2 separate regions of the Homo sapiens genome follow, and region 2 is linked to region 1. The links are contacts of gene promoters, found by promoter capture Hi-C in human tissues and cell types (Jung and others, 2019). All regions are on one chromosome and are shown on one strand. Each heading gives the region's core, a stretch centred on a gene start or on the middle of the fragment in contact. The rest is flanking DNA. Distances are from core to core; before and after follow the strand shown. Region 1 holds the start of OLFML3 (olfactomedin like 3). Region 2 has its middle 140 kb from the start of TRIM33.

What was found. Contacts are between HindIII fragments. The study calls those that stand out against the background at their distance.
Region 2: a fragment that was not itself captured here is called in contact with the fragment with the promoter of OLFML3 in region 1 in 2 of the 25 tissues and cell types used here (bladder and small bowel).

Annotation. Positions count from the first base shown.
Region 1 is chr1:113,976,634-113,982,342 of GRCh38, reverse strand. It overlaps OLFML3 (olfactomedin like 3), which reads right to left and starts at 2,869. Exons shown (of 3, transcript NM_020190.5): 1 at 2,713-2,869; 2 at 1,726-2,011; 3 at 90-1,394. The coding sequence starts at 2,826. The coding sequence ends at 574. It overlaps HIPK1 (homeodomain interacting protein kinase 1), which reads right to left. Exons shown (of 16, transcript NM_198268.3): 16 at 4,474-5,709. RefSeq lists enhancers at 292-1,124, 2,792-3,625, 4,931-5,508. The HindIII fragment of the contact is 5,723 bases long and covers 1-4,768 here.
Region 2 is chr1:114,369,692-114,375,400 of GRCh38, reverse strand. No RefSeq gene overlaps it. Among named protein-coding and RNA genes, the nearest start is that of TRIM33, 140 kb to the left of the region's middle. RefSeq lists a silencer at 1,128-1,328. The HindIII fragment of the contact is 4,490 bases long and covers 951-5,440 here.

The DNA of each region.
Region 1 (5,709 bases), core at 1,620-4,119:
TCAAGGAGTGGGGATGGGTTGGGAGGGAGAAACTGGATGGTCAGGGGGAAGTTTGATCTGAGGGCTACCCCAAACAAACACAGGAGAGGAGCAGTGGATTTTCCTTTTAATGCAAAATGTTGCAATACAAAACAATGTGGAGAAAGTCCTGTTCCTCAGGACACTGAAGGGAGGAGTGAGGAAGAGAGGACAGAGCTGGACGTCTCCTCCTATTTCTCCCTCCCCAAGTCACTCTGAGGGGAAGAACACTGCTGCCTGCTCCCTGGGCCTGCCCGCATACAAGGTTAGAGCCCTGGGTCTGGGGCATCCTTAGCCTGAAATTTGTTGACATGGGGCAGGAGAGCAGGAGGGAACATTGAGGGTTTTGACTCTTCGGGCTCTAAAAGGATTACTCAGGATCTGGAGTTCCGTATGAAACAAAGGAGCTGAAAGAATTTGATTGCCATTGGCTAAAAATATAGAGGATTTGAGCCACAACTGGCCCACATTTGAAGAATGAGGAACAAGAAATTTAGTGGGGATATAATATAAATGTATGGGAGTGAGAAAGATGCAAAAAACAAGGCTAGCTCCTCAAACCTCCTCCTCTTTCTTCCTCATCTCCAGCTTATAGACAATCTGGTAGCCATCATCCCAGGCATAGAGCTGGCGTTCTCGGGGGTTATAGCGGAGGCTGGCATGGGCACCATATCTGCGGGGAAAATAAGGGAGTGCTGCCCGTTCAGGGGTCAGGGTGCCGCTGGCATCAAAGGAGCACTGGATGCGGGCCCGACTGGCAGGACGGGTGTTATAGACGACATAGAGGGTCCCACAGATGACAAAGGCAGCCTCAGCATTCTCTCTGGGACATGGTGTGTCCCACTGCTGCTCTGTGTCCAGTGTCTGTGGATCTAACTTGGCCAGACACAAGTGCCTGTCATCCTCCCGGGTGGCATAGACAGCCCAAAGACCTTCCTCATCAGCTGCCAGGTCGATGTAGGTGTCTGCTGTCAAGCCGTAGGGGGGGATCAGCCCCTCTGCTGGGAATACTGAGCTGTCCACCACTGTTCGGTTTGCCAGGTGGAATTTGATTAGCTGCAAAGTGTTCTCCATCTCACCACCTCCACCAGGTCTTCCAGGAGGCCTCCGAGCAAAATAAAGAAAGCCACCATATACCAGCTGCCCTGTGCCTACCCAGGGGAAGGGCACCCGGACTCGGGAAGCTTTCCGGGCAGCCATGGCAAGGGTGAAGTCACGCAGCCTTGGGAAGACAAAGGCTGTGTCATTCTGTGTCCCATCTAACACGTAGATCTTCTCTGTTTGCCCCAGTGGATCCTTGGTCCATAGACCAGCTGGGCCACCAAATCGCTTCAGAATCTTCATTGATCTCACTTGAGAGATTGTGTAGCCACAGTCTGATGAGAAAAGCACAGGAAAAGGAAATAGAGGCAAGAATTAGATGCCTCCAGCAGGAACTCCCCCAGGGTGGGTGATCTGGAGAATAGTGAGCATTTGCCCAGTGGTTGCCTCCAATCTTAGGGAGAATTGAGAAAGAGCGGGTACCACAGCGGCCTGGATCCCCAGAACCTCTCCTTAATAGACCTGGCATTACAGAGGTTTCCCTAAAACAGATTCCAGAAGACAGAGCCACAATGGACTGGGACAAAGCGAAAAAAAGAGTAAGAAGCAAGGAAGGAAGAATATCGGTTCTGAGAAGAGTTAGGGGCCTGCTTTCAGATTATTTACCTGTCACCATATCGTACTTCTCATTCCTTCTTCCCTTGCCTTTGGTCCCAGGGCCTCCAGTCACCTTCTCATCAAACTCTACACAGGGCAGAGCTGGGTTCTGGGTCTCCAGATAGTCTACCTCCCGCTCCAGACGATCCACTCTCCCGGAGATGGTGTCGGCCTCAGTTCTGAGTGCCTCCCGCTCCTTCTCTGCCACCTCCAGCAGTGGCAGCATCTTGTTCTTGAAGTCCCGCAGCTCAGCAGCATGCCGACTACTCTGGTCCTGGCACTGGGCCAGCCGTTCCTGAAGGGATGGGGGATCAGGAGGGAGGCTGCAGGGTTACAACTCCCAGGCAGGGAGAGGCCCAACTCGGGAGTCAGGAATGGGAAAAAAAGAGCAAACTCAGCCAGGCTTCAATATCCCCTTCCACTCCTGCAGAAAAGGAAACCAGATGTGCAGAGGTGCTAAATGTGCAAAGAGCCTAGCTGAGATTCACCTAGGCCCCTACCCCGACTCCATGTCCTCCAGCCTGTGTTCTCTGTGAGCAGTGCCACTGAGCCATCTGAGCCTCTAGGCAGGTCTAAGCGCATGAAGGTGTGAAGAGGTCTCTGCTCCCTTAGCAATTATCCTCTCGGACACTAAAATGCTACGGATCTCAACCTGTTAAAAAGACAGGAAGTTATAGATTCCCCGGGAACCTCCAACTTCAACAGAATCATCACCTTCTCTGGAGATGCAGCCCCACAATTTTGGCTCTCGTTTCCACTCTGCCCCCTTATTCTATCTAATCCCAGAGGTAAAACGCAAAAGTCGATTTGCTTTGGAATTGTTCTATGTGGGGTAAGAGGAGGGCTTGTCATTCCGAAGGTCCTCTTATTAAGAGAGAATTTTCTGTAGACTCTAACAGAGCCCTTTCTTGTTATCCCCAGATCCCTAACAAACTGGTTGAACCAATAGCCCTGGAATCCTTCTAGGCGGGGCTAGAAGAGAAAGGGGTCCCTCACCTCTAAAGCAGCTAGTCGGCGTTCCATGTACTCCACAAGGTGGTGCTGCTGTCCTTGGAGGGGTCCCGACCATGACAAAAGGAACAAGATGAGGAGAGGGGTGCTGGGCCCCATGGCAGCCTGGAGAGTGGTGCCAGAGTAGAAGGAACGTACAGTCAGCCTCTTCCCCTCAAGCCCGAGGGTTAGCTTTGGAGGCGGGGTGGGGGCGGTGCCTTCTCTCCTGATCTCTGGGTCTCTCTCACTACTCTGGAATGCTTTCAGTTCTCTTTACAACCCCCACCCCCTCCTTTCCGCCAGGATTGATCAAACACAGATGGCCCCATTGCACAGCAGCCAGAAGCCTTAACCACCTCCCGCCTAGGCTGTAGGGTCCTCTGGAGGGGAAAGAGATGGAAACCCGAAAGCAGAGGCCTTCTAGGCAGTCAAGCAGGGAAGCTAGCTGCAGAAAGCAGAGACCCCAGAGAAAACTCAGCAAACGCCATTCCTGTTTTAGGAAAGTTTCACCAGTGCTGACTTAAGAAACTGACATTTTTCATTAATCTTTCCCTTTCCCTGCAATAGAGTGGGTTTTCAGCCTTGTTCAGTAGAAGCTGGGAGCTGGGGAGGTGAGGCTTGAAGGGAGGAAGCAGGAAAACAATGGCCCAAGTGGTCAAGCCCAACTTATTCTAAAGCTCATTGGCGCCACCTTGTGCTAAGCAGCTGGTGTCATCTCTCATGATAATACAGAAACTAAGGCTTAGACTTCACCCCATGAGGAAAATTTTCCACAAAAGCCAAATATATTGAATTTACAGGGGTTTTCACCACTGAAATGCATATTTCCCCCAAGACTATCCAATTACTACTTTGGGGGCTATGCAAATATCTGATTTAGCCCAAGGAAGAAAATATAACTGAGATTAAAAAAAAAAAAAAAACAGGTCACTGAGAAGTTAGTAAATTAACTCGATCGTCTGGAAGTTAAGGCTGACAGCAGCGCTGTTTTACATGGCTTTCCTTTGCTTGAAAGAGGCCAGATATAGTCTCTCACCAAAACTGAGGAGTGTTCAGTGAGTTCACACTAATTTACTATACATTCATGTATTGCGGGGGGGCGGAATCTGATATATATATATATGTTGTTGCAGTCTAGATCAATGTATTCTGACTTCCTTACCACTGGGAGAAAAGACTATTGGTTATTTCTCTTGGTTGTGGTCCAAAAGGGTATTTCTGAGTGTTTCTCATTTCTATATCCCAACTAAGGCTGCAGGAGCCCAAAATGAATTAATGGCCACCATAAGGTAGACTTGGGCCATAAGGTAGACACACGGGCCGAAAAAAAAAATCAAATAGAGCATTTACTCAGAGACCTGCAGTCATTAATCGAAACAAACCCCTATTTCTTTATCGGGAGAAATTCTATTCACTTTAGAATCAACAGAATCTGATGAGAGGTTCCTTCTGTAAAAAGGACCATGACTCTAACAGTACAGTTTGAAAGGAGGGGAAAAATAGCAGCTTCCTGTGGTTACTCATCTTTTCATTCTGCTACTGCTATCTGGCAAAACATATGAGGAAACAAAGCTTAATTAGCCGGTCTCAGAAGTCTTCTACCTCTTTCAAAGGGTCAGATCCAGATGATGTGAAGTAAGGACCCTGGACACTGCATTCTTGGGAAGTATTCCCTGCCAAACCCTATTCATTTCCAGTATGGAGATTTGTGTGAAGAATGAAATTGTCTCTAGTACTCTACTGATGTTCAAATACAATATGCTTAGCCACTTTCAAAGATGTCATTTATTGATCCCCTTTATATCCTATAACAGAAGTCAAAAACAGCCACATAAGTCAGAAAATTTACCCATTTTATTGATGCATTGCAATTGCTCTACATTTTACCATATTATGTAGAAAATACTGAAAATACAAGCTACTTTGTAAAACCAAAGACAAACATTGAATCCAAAGATAAACTATGTTTTACACAATGGACCCTTTTCCCATAGTTAGTATTAAATTTTAAATATCTATTTCTTTTGTTAAAATGATTATTTTACATACTCCCTAAGTACATCTGCATTACAAACATAGCTCAGTAATTCTCAGAAACTATCTGTTTCTAGAGGCTTGTTGTAAAAGAAAGCGCACAACCAAAAAAAGGGAGAAAGCAAAAAAAGTTTAAATCGCACACAATAACTAGCATATCAAATACATTTAATAAAGTAGGAATTCCATTGCAATATCAAGGATTCAAAGCAGAAATACTAACATTACATATAATGTACATATAATGTACTGCTACATGTAGTGAGATTATTTTTCAAGCTGAATTGAAACCACACATTATATAAAGTTTAGCAACAAACAACCATGTAGACATGCTGCACCATCTATCAGTTAAAAAAAAAAAAAATCAAAATAGGAAGCAGGCTCGGGCCACTCCTGTCACTGAGAGGCAATTTCATTTCCTATCCTAAAACAAACCATCTCAACTAGTGAATTTTTGCATAATAATGCTGAACAAAACACACATTACTGTGCTTGCCTGGCTAAGGGCAGTCAAGCTTAGCCCCTCTAGTGGAGGACAATGGATGAGCAATCACAAAAGCAGGCTCAGAATGGCCAGAACTGTTTGAAATGGAGTTCTTATTCCTGGGGTTGGTATTTCAGCTGAGCACTGAAAATAATATCACCTCCTGGGAGCTATTAAAAACTCTGGAGTGACCAAGTGTCCCTATGAGCCCAGAGTGGCTACACTGAACCCTTCTCCGCTTCTTCTCTCACCCGGAAAGGAAGAAGTTGGAAATGCCAAGTTCTGAGAGAGGACTTAAAGCCTTAAGCTGGTTTGAGGTCAGGTCACTGTGACCCAGGCCAGCTGCTCACTAAATTCACCAGGCTTCCTCCCTTCCTGTCAGGGCCAACAGGGCTAACCCCAGGGACAGAATCTAAAGCCACAGTGAGCACATACATACACATTCAGCAGACACAGGTGGATTTTTATGCTGGAAAATCGGA
Region 2 (5,709 bases), core at 1,946-4,445, 390 kb before region 1:
ATTATACTTGGCCAGATTATTTGTATAAAATGCAGCAAGAAAGGCCAGGTGCGGTGGCTCAGAGCTGTAATCCCCACACTTTGGGGGGCCGAGGCGGGCAGATCACAAGGTCATGAGATCGAGACCAGCCTGGCTAACACAGTGAAACCCCATCTCTACTGAAAATACAAAAAATTAGCCAGGCGTGGGGACACGTGCCTATAGTCCCAGCTACTTGGGAGGCTGAGGTAGGAGAATTGCTTGAACCCGGGATGCAGAGGTTGCAGTGAGCTGAGATTGCACCACTGCACTCCAGCCTGGGTAACAGAATGAGACTGTCTCAAAAAAAATGCAGCAAAAATAATTTTTTTTTTGAGATGGAATCTCGCTTTGTCACCTAGGCTGGAGTGCAATGGCATGGTCTCAGCTCACTGCAACCTCCACTTCCCAGGTTCAAGTGATTCTTCTGCCTCAGCCTCCCGATTAGCTGGGACTAAAGGCACATGCCACCATGCCTGGCTAATTTTTTTTGTATTTTTAGTAGAGGTGGGGTTTCACTATGTTGGCCAGGCTGGTCTCGAATTCCTAACCTTGTGATCTGCCCACCTTGGCCTCCCAAATTGCTGAGATTACAGGTGTAAGCCACCATGCCCATCTAAGAATAATTATTTTTTACATAGGCTTTTAAAATTGGCTTTGATGGAACTTTGTTCCATAGAAGGAATCTCAGATAAGACTTTTTAAAACCAAGCCCAGCCATGGATTTGTACCATCAAATACCTGTAAGTTGGGTGAATTTTTCTCCTCTTGATGTCCCAAGATAACTTGGGGCTCCTGGGCCTGTCAGAAAGTGACATTCCTTACTTACCACAGGTCAGGAACTCTCTACAGGGACTATGTACAAAGTATGAGGCCAGCTTTCCCAAGGCACTTTTATTGGCTCTGTAAGTCAAGTTTGATTCCTTACAGGAATGCACACCATTCCAGTCAAAGCCTTGGTGAAATAACCAGTTTCCCCAATGGTGTCCTATTTCATTTACAAATGAAAACAGATTCTTATTGCACTTATGCAAATAACAATATTGTCATAAGTTAAGAATGTTCACAAATAGTTTCTAAATTCTGGAGAAATCAGGTAGAGAGAAACAAATATGCTCCAAATTTTTTTCATAGGAGTATATTTAATTGTTAAAAGCTGTCAGTAGGCTGAGCATGGTGGCTCACACCTGTAATCCCAGCACTTTGGGAGGATGAGGCAGGCGGATCACTTAAGGTTAGGAGTTTGAGACCAGCCTGACCAACATGGAGAAACCCTGTCTCTACTAAAAATACAAAGTTAGGCATGGTAGTGCATGCCATAATCCCAGCTATTTGGGAGACTGAGGCAGGAGAATCGCTTGAACTGAGGGGGCAGAGGTTGTGGTGAGCCAAGATTGTGCCATTGCACTGCAGCCTGGGAAAAAGGAGCAAAATTGTGTCAAAAAAAAAAAAATCTGTCAGTAGCTCAAAACAAAATTTCCTTGACTCTGAAAAACAAAAGGATCAGCAACGTTTTCAGCAAAACGTCAAAAAGATTACTTCAGTCTTCTTTTACTTCAGTCCATGCAGTTAATTCCTATTCTGCTTGATATTCATGAGCATTTCAGCTCTCCATGAGTCCTGAAAGTTTTTCCTCTATTCTGATGTCACAATCTTCAAAGTTATCAGAAACCTGCATTCAAAAGTACCTGTTTGAGTTTTATAGCTGATTATCAAACCACTTTCTAAAGAGGACCCAAACAAGACAATAATTGTTTGTGGATGACAAAGAGTTTTAGGGCAGCCATAGTCAAAGACACAATTCACAAGGAAATTTGTTGCTTCTGTGGCACACAATAATTTAACATAACAATTATAATTATTACTGTTAATGTACAGTAAGTCATATCAGAATTATAGGAGTTTCTCCACAATTTTGGAACACATACCAATAACATATTTATACAAATACAGCCCAAAGAAAACCAAATACCATTTTATATTTGACAATGCTTTCTGTAAAATTTTTATACCAAATAAGCCAAATATATCATTTTTGGGCTTTAGGGAACCTAATATCTTAAAATATTAATTAGATCAGAAAAACACATAATTTATAATTTGATTTTGGAAAGTTTGTCAAATATCAAAGGTTTAAAACACTTGATATCACAAAATAGGATCACAGATCATTGTAAAATAAGTCATTCATTTAATAAAAGTGATAAGGATTTCAACAAAAGACAAAAACCTTCATTCTTTGAGAGAGGAGACTTAATTTTCCAAACAATAAGCCCTAATGAAAACAGAATGAAGCCAATTAAATTTGCTTTCCAAAATTTTATAAACAATCTCTAAAATTTTTATATTGACTACAAGATATAACTTCCATAAGCCTTTTATAAACTTTATAACATTTATTAAGGAGTTGGTTAATGCTTCAAGAAAACTTTGTCAATCTGACACAGGGGCCCATATGCTTGCATCAGTGTCTTGCATCAGTGTGCCTTTGACATTAATCATTAATTTATAGAAAAACTGAACTTATTTTATCTGTCAAATTGGCCCTGACAATCTCACACACCCATCTCTTCTGCAATAGTCTCTGGGCCCTGAGGAGTTGAATAGCTTTAATTTCTGGCCCTGTGTCTCAGGAATGCAGTTTATTTTGATTGGCGTCTTCTACCAGGCCTGAAGATGAGACTTTAATTACTGTCAGGGTTTAAAATTTAGCAGGACTTGGTGTCCTTTTTAGACCCAGGAGTCAAAGCCCTGTAACTGAATGTCACAATGACTTTAAAAGTACATACAGAAAGATACACAGATGCAATAATCTTAATTTTAAAAATGTTTATCACAGTTTTTTTCTAAGCAAGCCAAAACTTCATAATAATGGCATAGAAAATATTTTGATAGAATGTAAAATGTGTTAGGCCAGTTACCAAAAAGCAAAAGAAAAGACCTTCTGCAGTGTACAGAATATTATGTTGAAAGAAAACATTTCCTTTAGACCTTTAAGAAAACATTGTTAGTATCAGGCCACAACAAACATAACTCGAGGGAAAAAAAATTTATGTGAGCTGAAAATAAGTTGAAGGAGAGCATTTCTATTTCATGCCTTTTAAAAGGGGAGAGAAAACTAAGCTTTCTTACCAAAAAATACCTCTTTATTTCTATAACTTTCTTTACATCTCTGTTATTTCCTTGTTCCCTTTACATTGTTTTATACATAACCTTTAAATAAGCTTTGAATTAGACACGAATTGTTCACCTTTTTAAAAAGGACACTTTTGTTTTTTTTGAGATGGAGTCTCAGTCTGTCACCCAGGCTGGAGTGCAATGACGTGGTCTCTGCTCACTGCAACCTCCGCTCCCGAGTTCAATCCATTCTCCCGCCTCAGCCTCTTGAGTAGCTGGGACTACAGGCACATGCCACCACACCTGGCTAATTTTTGTATTTTTAGTAGAGACGGGGTTTCACTATGTTGGCCAGGCTGGTCTCAAACTCCTGATCTCATGATCCACCTGTCTCAGTCTCTCAAAGTGCTGGGATTACAGGCGTGAGCCACTGTGCCCAGCCAAAAGGACACTTTTTTTTTTAAGAAAGGATGTTTTCCTACAATATATATTTTTATTGAGATATCTATTATTTAATTTAATATACCTTTAGATTCTAAATTATGAGAAGTTTGTCTACAAGTATTTATCCCATTATGTTTACCTAATTATTTTATTTTAATTGTTTATCTAGATTATTTATGAAAACTGTGATAGTCATCATTTAAACTTATGAAATTTGCCATTGCAAAATTATAACTGAGATAGTGAAAAAAGACATGACCTGAGTCCATCTTGCTTCTAACCTCCAACCTGTCCTTGTTCATTCCTGGACATAAGTCAAATTCACTTTGAGAGAAAGAGAGTTTATAGTTAAGCTTTGAAACAAAGATGATAAAAGTCTTTTCCCAAACAAACCACCTTACTGCCTGTGGACTACATTGCCTAAAACCATAAGATTAGAAGTTATGATAATTTTACTAAATAATTCAAGATGTAGCTGTTTTCATTAAACCAGTATCAATATCTTATTTATTAAAAATTACACAAGTGGCTAGGTGCAGTGGCTCATGCCTGTAATCCCAGCACTTTGGGAGGCCGAAGCGGATGGATCACCTGAGGTTGGGAACTTGAGACCAGCCTGACCAACATGGAGAAACCCTGTCTCTACTAAAAATACAAAATTAGCCATGCATGGTGGCGCATGCCTGTAATCCCAGCTACTCAGGAGTCTGAGGCAGGAGAATTGCTTGAACCTGGGAGGCGGAGTTTGTGGTGAGCCAAGATCACACCATTGCACTCCAGCCTGGGCAACAAGAGTGAAACTCTGTCTCAAAAAAAAAAAAAAATTACACAAGCAAAGATCATTCTGTTTTGGGCTGGATTTATAGTTTCATAACCCCTGTGTTAAATTTTGACACCTTATGGTATTTGCCAGGGAAAAGTATGATATTGCTTGATCAATAAATGCAAACAAAAATGTTTGCTGGCAATTCTTAAGACAGTTCTAATATTACTTTACCAATACTTTTAAAGCTAGCTTATTTATTAAAGATTTTACTTAAGTTACATAAACTTGAAAGAGTATTTGACTAGTCTTTCCTTTTTTCTGAGAAAGTATTTGATTTAAGTGCTTTTATTTTTCTTTAAGCCAATTAATTAGACTTCTTTTCTATATTTTTAGAAGTGAAACATTGTGTACACAATACATAAATACATAGCTGTATTAGGCATACTGATGGAAGTACATCTTAAAGATTCCTAAGATCTCCTTTTTTTTTTTTTTTCCTATCTTAGACTTGCAAACTCTTGATAACCTGTTTCATTATCCTGGCAGTTGTCAGCTAAATAGCTGTAAATCTGCATATTGAAGGAAACAACTCTTAGATGAAAAATCAGATAGCAAAATTTACATCTCAAGGTACAGAGAGATAAAGTCTGGTGGTGCTAGAGGGAGATTAAAGATGGATGTCAAATCAAACATAAAATTATAGAAATCTATCATAAGATTGTATGAGAAGCCCAATTTTATTTAGATAGGGATTACCTATCTTTTAAATGGATCTCTGAGCTCTAGGCAGAGTCCACACTGAATTCTTTGTCTCCAAAAAGGGAGAATTATTATGAGGCTAGACCACGTGATGTTTTTACAGTGCACTTAAAATTTTTTTTAAACATAGACATTTCTAAGTGTCTAAACTACACTCTTCCTTAAAAGTCCAAGAGTAGTCTCTGTTGCAATAACTATTTTAGTCAGTAAGTCAGGTGACACAATACAAAAGCAAGCAGTTTAAGAGCTGAGACAAACTTGTCTGTTTACACTCTTGGGGTTCCACAAGGAAAAAGGAAAAACATGTTTCTCCCTCAAAGGGAGCCTGGTGCCTTCTCCATTTTCTTTAGGGAACCCCAGGCTATTATAAACTATTTTACATCCCTCATGCAGCAGAGGGTGCAAGAGAAAGGAGAGACAGCAGAAGTAAATGAAGAAAACGGAATTCAGTCAACTAAGAAAAACTTTTTTTCAAAAAAGAAGAAAAGACAAGGTCCTAGAAGAAAAAAAGACAAGGCCCTAGGAGAAAAAAACAAAGCAAAAACATGAAGACCTTTTAAATACAAACACACACACATGCACACATATACACACACATCTTGGAT